Linked DNA regions of Homo sapiens: all the other regions are linked to region 3. Evidence: promoter capture Hi-C in 16 types of primary human blood cells and fetal thymus (Javierre and others, 2016). All regions are on one chromosome and are shown on one strand. Each heading gives the region's core, a stretch centred on a gene start or on the middle of the fragment in contact. The rest is flanking DNA. Distances are from core to core; before and after follow the strand shown.

Evidence for each region. Contacts are between HindIII fragments. The CHiCAGO score rates a contact against its expected background, and 5 or more counts as called.
Region 1: a fragment that was not itself captured here is called in contact with the fragment with the promoter of PVRIG in region 3 in 1 of 17 cell types (activated CD4 T cells); the score reaches 5.6 in activated CD4 T cells.
Region 2: a contact is called between the fragment with the promoter of AZGP1 here and the fragment with the promoter of PVRIG in region 3, in 9 of 17 cell types (neutrophils, total CD4 T cells, non-activated CD4 T cells and 6 more). The highest score is 17.8, in neutrophils.

The regions. Positions count from the first base shown.
Region 1 is chr7:100,370,386-100,373,449 of GRCh38, reverse strand. It overlaps a transcript of PILRA not described here. Among named protein-coding and RNA genes, the nearest start is that of PILRA, 1.6 kb to the left of the region's middle. RefSeq lists an enhancer at 2,295-3,046. The HindIII fragment of the contact is 1,363 bases long and covers 801-2,163 here.
Region 2 is chr7:99,974,471-99,977,647 of GRCh38, reverse strand. It overlaps AZGP1 (alpha-2-glycoprotein 1, zinc-binding), which reads left to right and starts at 1,617. Exons shown (of 4, transcript NM_001185.4): 1 at 1,617-1,703. The coding sequence starts at 1,628. The HindIII fragment of the contact is 13,516 bases long and covers 1-2,969 here.
Region 3 is chr7:100,218,672-100,221,731 of GRCh38, reverse strand. PVRIG (PVR related immunoglobulin domain containing) reads right to left here and starts at 1,783. Exons shown (of 5, transcript NM_001397246.1): 1 at 1,704-1,783; 2 at 1,268-1,618; 3 at 1,059-1,185; 4 at 912-972; 5 at 242-804. The coding sequence starts at 1,761. The coding sequence ends at 481. It also overlaps a transcript of STAG3 not described here and the pseudogene CASTOR3P. RefSeq lists enhancers at 24-123, 144-243, 1,634-1,703, 1,764-1,893 and a silencer at 664-713. The HindIII fragment of the contact is 24,869 bases long and covers 1-3,060 here.

The DNA of each region.
Region 1 (3,064 bases), core at 233-2,732, 150 kb before region 3:
CTATTGCAAAAGGGCCTCCCTTGTGGTCAGTGCCAAGTCAGCCCTGCCCAAAGGCCGCGGTCCCCGTCCTCCTGCCGAGGGGCTGGGCCTGACCTTGGGGGGCTGGGCCTGACCTTGGCTGGCTGGGCCCCTCCCACCTGGATCCCTGCAGACCCCACCTCACTCAGCCTCACTTCTCATCCTTCTCTCTGCCCAGGGCCAGCGCAGGCTCTTTCAGGGAGAGGAAAGGCAGGCCTGAATCTCTGTCCTTCTGCGCCCCAGATTCAGTCCTCAGAGAGGAGGAGAAGGAAGCCGGTGGAGGTCACAGGTGCTCAGCCCCCAGCCCAAGCAGAAGAGCCCCCAGCTTGTCCTCTGTCCCTCTCCCTCCCTGGCAGGGGCTCCCATGCAGTCCCCAGGCACCACCACGACCCAGCTGGCCTCTTCCTGCCCCAGGCCCTCTCTCGGTGCAGGCACCACGACCTTGCTCAAGGGGTGAGGGGGCTAATGGTCCCCTACACAGAGACTGGTCCTTCTGGAAGCCACCCCTTGACCCCCAAGACATGAGACTGGGTCTGCAGGCTCCCCTCTGACGTCCCGCCCTACACAGGAGGGGACAGGGCTCTGAGAAGCCCTGCCCCAGGCCACGTGACTTGCAGTAGTGGGTACAGGACTGGAGCCCCCTCAACCCAGATGTCTGGGCCTGGCTGAAGGGTGGAATCTCTGGGCCTCAACTTCTGAGTGCAGGACAGGAGGCTGTCCCTTCATACAGCCCCTCAGGTCATTCCCTCCACACACCTGAGCCCTTGGCTGATCCAGAAGCTTCCTTGGACACAGAAGAAAGTGAAGGCTCAGAGCAACACCCACCCCACACACAGTCCTGGGCCCATCTCTAACGGGGATCTGCCGGCCTTTGCCCGGGGGTGGTCACTGGAGCAGGGAGCTTTGGTGGTGCACAGGGCTCCCTCCGTAGGAGGCTCTGCCCACCCTCTCCAGGGTGAGGTGGCATCAGTTGAGGGGCCGTGGGGGAAGACAGGATTTCATCAGAGGAAGTGACATCAGCCTTCTTGAGACAGAAGCAGGCAGGGACGGGCCTCCCTTCTCTTAGTCTCTTCCCTGGTCCTAGTAGGCTCCTCTGTGCTTCCCAGGGCCAGCCAGGCCGGCCCGCCCTCCCTCCCTTTACAGGCCTGAGGAAACAGGTTCCCCATGCTCAGGAAACCCCTCCGTCTGAGCCAGGCCCTAAACACCTCATTCTCTGCTTCACAACATTCTGAGGTGACACATTATCTCCATTCAACCCACAGGGAAACTGAGGGACGGGGGCTTTGGGCTGAACTGGTCACAGCTGGAAAGATGGGCTGCAGAGAGGACAAGGGACCCCCTGGCTGTCTGGGCAGGGCCTCGAGAGGGTGGCCCGCCCCACCTGAGGACCTGGCTGAAAGGTCACCTGCTTACCAGGCTGTCCAATGTGGGGGCCACATAGAACTTATAGCCAACAGCCTCTGGGTAGCTCTGGAGGGCACATGCTGCCCAATGCTGCCACGTGCAGTCTCCTTAGATGCAACATGCATGTTTATGTCACTTTCAGGCCCTGGATCCAGCTGAACCCCCATGGGAGATTCCTTCTGTGTCAGGATTTCTGCTCTGGGATGGTGTGAGGTCTCCTGGATTTGTTCATCCTCCCTCCCCCAACAGCAGTGACAGAACCTGGGACTGAGCCTGGGGCTGTGGCTCTCTCACAGACAGGGCTTCTGAGAGGAGGAGGAGGGCCTGGAGGAGGGCATGATTCCAATGTGGGCAGAGCCTAAATGCAGCCCCTTAGTGCAGGTGCTCATGGGAGAGGCGTGGGAAGTCGTGTGTGGGGAGCAGGGGCAGGGAGGGGGTAAGTACCCTGCACCGCATTATGAGAACCACTGCTTGGATGTCCCCACATTCCCCCAACAAGTATCCTACTGTCCTCACTGGCCACATCCGTCCCTGCCCCCAGCCCCTCACCTCTCCTTGGCACCCACCGTTCCTGCTTTCCTCTGATCCCAATCGACATCCCATAGGCTTTGTGGAGTTCACAAGCCAACTGTAATATTCTCACAGTAATTCAAAGGACCTAGAATAGCCAAAAGGCCTTTACAAATGAAGAATGAAGGTGGAAGATTTATAATACCTGACTTCAAGACTTGCTGTAAAGCTTCTGTAATCAGGCTGTACTGTCCTCAAGGTACTAGAGTGTCCACAGACTGGAGTGTAGGGACGCGATCACCATCACTCCTGGGCTGAAGCAATTTGCTGACCTCAGCCTCCCAAGTAGTGAAGACCACAGGCACACACCACCACACACGGCTAATTTTTTTTTTTTTTTGAGAGATGGGGTCTCACTATGTTGTCTAGGCTGGTCTCAAGTTCCTGGGCTTAAGCAATCCTCCTGCCTCGGCCTCCCTCAGTGCTGGGATGACAGGTGTGAGCCACCTCACCAAGCCCCACTGGATTGCTGATATTCTGGCATCTTGGACCTCCAAGAGCAGAGAGAGGGACTGCCCCTGCCAGAGCCAGCCAGTTGTTAGAGCTAGCAAATGACCCCTCTGAGAGTGTCCCTTTTTTTTTCTGAAACAGTCTCACTCTGCTGCCAGGCTGGAGTGCAGTGGCACGGTCTCGGCTCACTGCAACCTCCACCCCTGGGTTCAAGCGATTCTCCTGCCTCAGCCTCCCAAGTTGCTGGGATTACAAGTGCGTGCCACCATGCCCAACTAATTTTTGTATTTTTAATAGAGACGGGGTTTCACCACGTTGGCCAAGATGGTCTCCATCTCCTGACCTTGTGATCTGCCCACCTCGGCCTCCCAAAGTGCTGGGATTACAGGCTTGAGCCACGGCTCCTGGCTGAGTGTGCCTTTCATATGCAAACCAGCTAATCCAGGGCCCCAACACTGAACCAGCTCTTCTAGCTGCCTCTCACCCTTCAGAAGGCAGTATTTCTCTGCCTTCATCATCCTGGGCCAGACACCAAATAACAAATGACAGCCTCTAATCCCCAGAGCCTGCTAACGTTATTCTAACTAGCCAATCCTAAACCTGCATACCCTTCCTTGCCTTT
Region 2 (3,177 bases), core at 368-2,867, 240 kb after region 3:
TAATTATATTTCCAACCAACAGCATGTAAGGGGGTTTGACATAGCTCCTGATGGGTATCACCCGTTCAGATATGAGGGTGATGTTGAATGTGGGTGTTTTGGTATTAGTGTGAAGGAGTTGATAGGTAGTGTTCCATATCCTTATTCCTGTCATAGCTGCAGCTAATTTTCATAGTTGAGGATGTTCTGGGGTAACAAAGGGATGAATCATTTTTGGTCTAGGAGGAGTAATGCCTGCATCCATCCATTTAAATAGGTAAGGGGACACCCATTGTCTCAGCCTGTATGACTGCCATCCATCCTCTACATAATCTAACAAATAATTAAACTCTGAGCATGAGGTATTTTTGCTGGAGCAATCTTGCCAATAATGCCCTTTTGGAGCCCAATCAATAACAATACCTGCGGCTAGACTTTGGAGCACAACGGCCTTAGGAGCATTACAATTATTCCATAAAATTGAAGTCACTATAAAAGGTCCCTTTGTAGGTTTCTTTAACCAAAAGAGAGGCTGGGCACAGTTGCTCACACTAGTAAACCCAGCACTTTGGGAGACCGAGGCGGGCAGATCACGAGGTCAGGAGTTCAAAACCAGCTTGGCCAACATGGTGAAACCCCTGCCTCAGCTTCCTGAGTGCTGGGATTATAGGCATGTGCCACCACGCGCAGCTAATTCTTGTATTTTTTCAGTAGAGACGAGGTTTCATCATGTTGCCCAGGCTGGTCTCGAGTACCTGACCTCAACCTGAGGTGATCCAACCACCTCAGCCTCCCAAAGTGCTGGGATTACAAGCATGAGTCACCGCACCCGGGCCCCAGTCACTTTAGAATAGCATGTTGCTTTGTATTCGGAGGGTCTCTCTGCAAATAGCCCATCAACACTGAGCGTGCCTGGAAAGACCTGGTTTTCAAATAACTGGCTTCGTCTGTGTAAAACGAGTCTTGTTGTATGCATTAAAAATTATCTTGGCTGGGCGTGGTGGCTCACGCCTTTAATCCCAGCATTTTGGGAGGCTCGTTCTGTTGCCAGGGAGGCTGCAAAAGGAGGATGCGGCTATTTCTGCTTCCATCATGGAAGGCTGGGATTCCACAGGCACAGAAAGGAAGGAGGGAGAGATGGGAATGTGACTGTCCTCCAGACACAGCCTCTGGCAGGATCGGATGTGGGAGAGTGAGGGTCCCACCCCAGCTGGGGTCTACCCAGGTCCATGTCTTGGACATGTTGAGAGTTTTTCTGGAAGGCAGGGATACAGTGTGGTCCAAAAACACACAAATGCCCCTACTGGCCCAGGGGTTGTCACAATAGACTGGAAGGGTGACACATCCCAGGCGCTTGCCACCCATCACACGCACCTCCTACCCACTGGCATCCTTCCACCCCAGGCACACACAAAGCCTCAGTCCAGAGATCAACTCTGGACTCAGCTCTGAATTTGCATATCCTGTGTGTAGATTCATTCTTCATAACCTCTGCCCAGCCTAGCTTGTGTATCATTTTTTTTTCTCTATTAGGGGAGGAGCCCGTCCTGGCACTCCCATTGGCCTGTAGATTCACCTCCCCTGGGCAGGGCCCCAGGACCCAGGATAATATCTGTGCCTCCTGCCCAGAACCCTCCAAGCAGACACAATGGTAAGAATGGTGCCTGTCCTGCTGTCTCTGCTGCTGCTTCTGGGTCCTGCTGTCCCCCAGGAGAACCAAGATGGTGAGTGGGGAAAGCAAGGGATGGGTGCTGGAGAGGACTGGAAGGAGGTGAGGAACAGGACATGTGGCTGGGAGACAGGCTGGATGCAGCTGGGATACCCTGGCATACGGCAGGAATGGGTGCCCAAGGCTGTCAACTCCCTCAGCTCACACACTTCCAGGAGCATTCAGGGAGCCTCTGCGCTGGCCCGAAATAAGACCTTCAGGAATCTGAATCTAAAACCCCTAGTTTACAGTGAAAACAAAGACTCCAAAGACCAAGCGACCTGCTTGGGGTAGACAGTCAGGACGGAGTAGGAACCATATGCCTGGAGCTGCTTCTGCTCCTGTTCCTTCCCTCCTTCCGATGGCTGGGTACACCTGCCTGACGCTGAGGGAAAGAGAGAGCAGCCCCAAGGGGAAAGTGGGAAGGCAGGTTGGCTGGAGGGATGGTGCTAGAAGGAAACCCGTGCCCAAATCCCACACTCAGACACCACTGCAGTGGGTCTGGAAGGCGAGTGGCTGGAAGAGAAGAGAGTGGGAGCTCCGGGAGATCAAGAGTCACTCCTAGGATAAGGGAAGGAGGCTGTTTGTGGCATGAGAATGTGCAGGATAAAGACATGGAAGCGAATGGCTTCTCAGTTGTGTGAGTTTAAAATTCATGACATTTACAAATTGTCAGAAAAGGTGTTATATGTTTGTTATATAACAATCACTTTGGAATGTTAATCTGATTCTGTGCCAAAATCTGAATTACTCAGGGTTCTCCAGAGAAACAGAACTAATAGGTGGTACACATATACATATATATGTACGTACACATACATACATACACTGTATACACATGGATACACACACACATAGGAAGAGATTTACATATATGTATACAAAAGAGAGAGAGAGTAGAGATTTATTTTAAGAAATTGACTCACACTATTGGGAGGAGTAACAAGTCCTAAATCTTCAGAGCCGGCCAGCAGGCTGGAGACCCAGGGAAGAGTTGATGTCTTAGTCTTGATTCCAAGGGCAGACTGTAGGCAGAATTCTTTCCTCTTTAGGGGACATCTGAGGCTTTTTCTCTTAAGGCCTTCAACTGATTGGATGAAGCCCACCACTATGGAGAGTAATCCACTTTACTCAAGGTCTACTGATTTTTTTGTAAATTAAAAAAAAAACTGTGGGTGCATAGTATGTGTATATATTTATGGGGTACATGAGAGGTTTTGATTCAGGCATGCAATGTGAAATAATCACATCATCAAAAATGAGGTATCCATCCCTTCAAGCTTTTATCGTTTGTGTTACAGACAATCCAATTATACTTTTTTGGTTATTTTAGTTTTTAAAAGTATTTGATTATTTATTTATTTATTTATTTTTGAGACAGAGTCTCACTCTGTCACCCAGGCAGGAGTGCAGTGGCATGATCTCGGCTCACTGCAACCTCCGCCTCCCAGGTTCAAGCAATTTTCCTGCCTCAGTCTCCTGAGTAGCTA
Region 3 (3,060 bases), core at 534-3,033:
ACTGGGATCCCCCAGCCCTATCTAGGCAGCCACAGGTGTCCCTCAGGAAGCTCCCCCAACACCCCTGCCACTCTGAGAAGCCAGGACAGATCTCTAAGATTGGGACACTGCCCTCTCCCTGGGCCAACCCCAGCCCTGCAATGAGGCCCCAACCCACTCTGGTTCTCACCTGGCTTCTGCCTCCCAGGGGTGGAGACTGCCTCCCCACTCTCTTCACCCCCAAAGAAGAAGCACAGCCGAGGCCGACATCAGAGAAACTGTGTTGCTGACTTAGTTGCAGCAGGAAATGACTGAAATGGGGTAACTGTCACTCACACACTCACACCTGTGCCCACACACGCACACACAGAGACCACATCCGCAGCAGGTGGGCCTGGCCAGACACCTATGGGACACTTATTGGAGGCCCAAGAATTAAAGTAAGGGGGTGACACCCAGGAGGCCTGGGAGGGGGAAAGCCCAGTGGCCTCATGGTCTCTCTCATCGAACTCCTAAGGGTCCTTCCATGGCCCTGGGCCCCCGAGGGTCAGGGAAAAGAGTGAGGCCGGGACCAGTGTGAGGAGGCCTCTCCCCTGCCTGAGCGTAGAGTCCATTCTCAACAGAGACAAAGCTGCCACGTGCAGGGATGGGTGTGGAGGCCCAGGCGGCAGGGCCCTGGGGCCGGTGTGCAGCGTGGGTGGGGAGTGACGCCCACCAGGACGGCCCCCCATGGGGGTGAGCTGTGTCCAAAGTAGCTGGGCGGCAGCTGGTGTTGATAGTGGCATAAGGGACGTGAAGAGCAGCCTGGGAGGCCTGGCTTGGTGCCTGCGCGGGGGAAGGAGGGTCAAGTGAGTCTGCACAGCTTGGGCCCAGCCCTGGCCCCCCTGCCCCTGCCCCTGTCACCTCATCCCCAAAGCAGGTCCCCTCCTCACCCATGCTCGTGCTCTCGGTGCCTGGGGGCTGGTGCGGGACGGCTGGAGCCTAGGGGCAGGGCTGGGAGAGAGCAAGGATGGTCAGAGCTCTGCAGGGCATGTGGCCATCCCAGTGTCAGGGGGACGTGGACAGGGACCAGGTCTCACCGGTGCTTATGTCGGCGCAGCAGATGAAGGAGGTAGACACAGCCAAAGAGGAGGACTCCTGAGACCCCCAAGATCCCGGCCAGGTCTGCCCGCAGAATGGGGGCAGGAGTCGGCGGGGCAGAGAGCCCTGGGCACGGAGACAAGAATCAGATGGGTGGCCAGTTCCCGAGCCCCTCCCTGCCCTCCTGGACCCCTCGCCCCGGCCCCACCTGGGTCTGAGCTGGGCGGGAGGCTCCCACAGGCCTCCCAGGAGCCCTCAGGGAAGGACGCAAACTTGCAGCAGAAGGTGGTGTTGGCGCAGGGGCTGCTGGCCCCAGAGCCTTCCAGGATGAGAGAGATGCTGCTCTGGGTTTCCCAGCGGGCCTGGCGAGCAGGGGCCCATTGCCGGATGCCACGTTCTGGGTGCAACACAGCCAGCGTGGTCCCCCCAGCACCGTTGGGGCCCCCCCAGCTCACAGTCACCAGGGAGATGGAGCCAGACCCCAGGAACCCACAACGGATGGTGAAGGACGAGAGCTCGGTGGCCTCCATCCGAACTTGAACCCACACCTCCGGGGTCCCTGTGGAACAGCAGCAAGGTCGGTGGGCTGTTGTCCTACATCACCCTCCCTGCAGCCCCTGCCCCTCTCTGGTGCCGGCACTCACCCGCAGTGACACACAAGGTCAGCAGCACCCAGGGCAGGACCAGGGTCCGGTGCCCCATGGCCCCCTCCAGTCCAGGTTCTGGGGGCTGCAGGGCCGGCACCTGTGCCTCTGTTCTCATCGCAGGAAGTCTTCATGTTGTCAGCAGCCAAACAGCCACTTCCTTCTCTCCTCTCACACCTTCCCCAGAGGTGGTGAGCACAAAGTGGCTGATTCCCTTCTTAAAGTGACAGTGAGGGCCTGCTCAGTCCCCAAGGCTGTGCTTCCAGGTAACAAGGCAGGGCGGCACAGGTGGGTGAGAACCCAGCCCTGGCTAGGCCTGGGGAGGCCAGGGGAGGGGCAGAGAAGCTGTCAGGGGCTAGAAGGACTCCCCTTCCCTGGACAGCAAGGGGTGCCGGGCTTCCCTAAGAAAGGGCTCTGTCCCGCCCCTCACCCAGCTAAGGAATCGGAGGAGAAAGCCCCTGGGAGTGGGAAGCCAGCAGGGAGGACCTGAGAGCCAGCCCAGCATGCATGACCCACTACCAATCTGATGTGGGTCCCACGCTTACACCTGCAATGCAGGCCTCCCCCACAACCCCCAGCCTGGCTCGCCCACTACCCACTCATACCTCCTGATCTACCCTGAACGCACCCCATACTGGGCTCTGCCCCAGGCGCTGTCTCCTCGTCATAGGTGATGGCAACTGGCTTCTGGCTGCTCGGGCCCAAAGCACAGCCACCAGTGCCTCTTCCCTTTCACTTCCAACGCACCAAGATTGTGTCAGCAAACAGCAGTCCTCTGCCCTAGCAGTGCAGAAGCCAGGAGTTGAACCCATGTCTCTCACCAGGTTAAGCTGCCTCGCTAAGTTTGGATGTGACCTCAGAAACAGAGGCTACTCCAGCAATACAAGATACTTTATTTTTCGGCTTCTACCTATGCCACCCAATCCCTTCACTGGGCCTAACTTAGTGAATCAAATTAAGTATATTTCCCTCCAAGTTGCCCCAGGATTCTGGGCTCCTTTGCACACTACAGGTTTTCTCTAAACGCCCTGGGTTTATCTATCCTTTGGTGAATTTTCAACTCTTCTTATTTCTCTGCCCTGTCCTGACCAAAAATCTTCAGTGCCTGTTTCTCTCTGCCATCCAAATCCCACACACATCTAGGGGTGAATCGGTGAATCTGCGCTGATGAGTGACACGTTTTGTGAATCCTTTCTAGGATCTCAGTATTTCATCCTATCCCGAGGGAAGGCTCTAAAGAGCTCAAGGAAGACCTCACGATGTCTATGTGTGAGAAGAAACCTTTCACCCCTTCACTATCACACCCCATCATCCAAGCACACACTCCTCTTTCATCCCATAAACCCCAGTCAGTGTC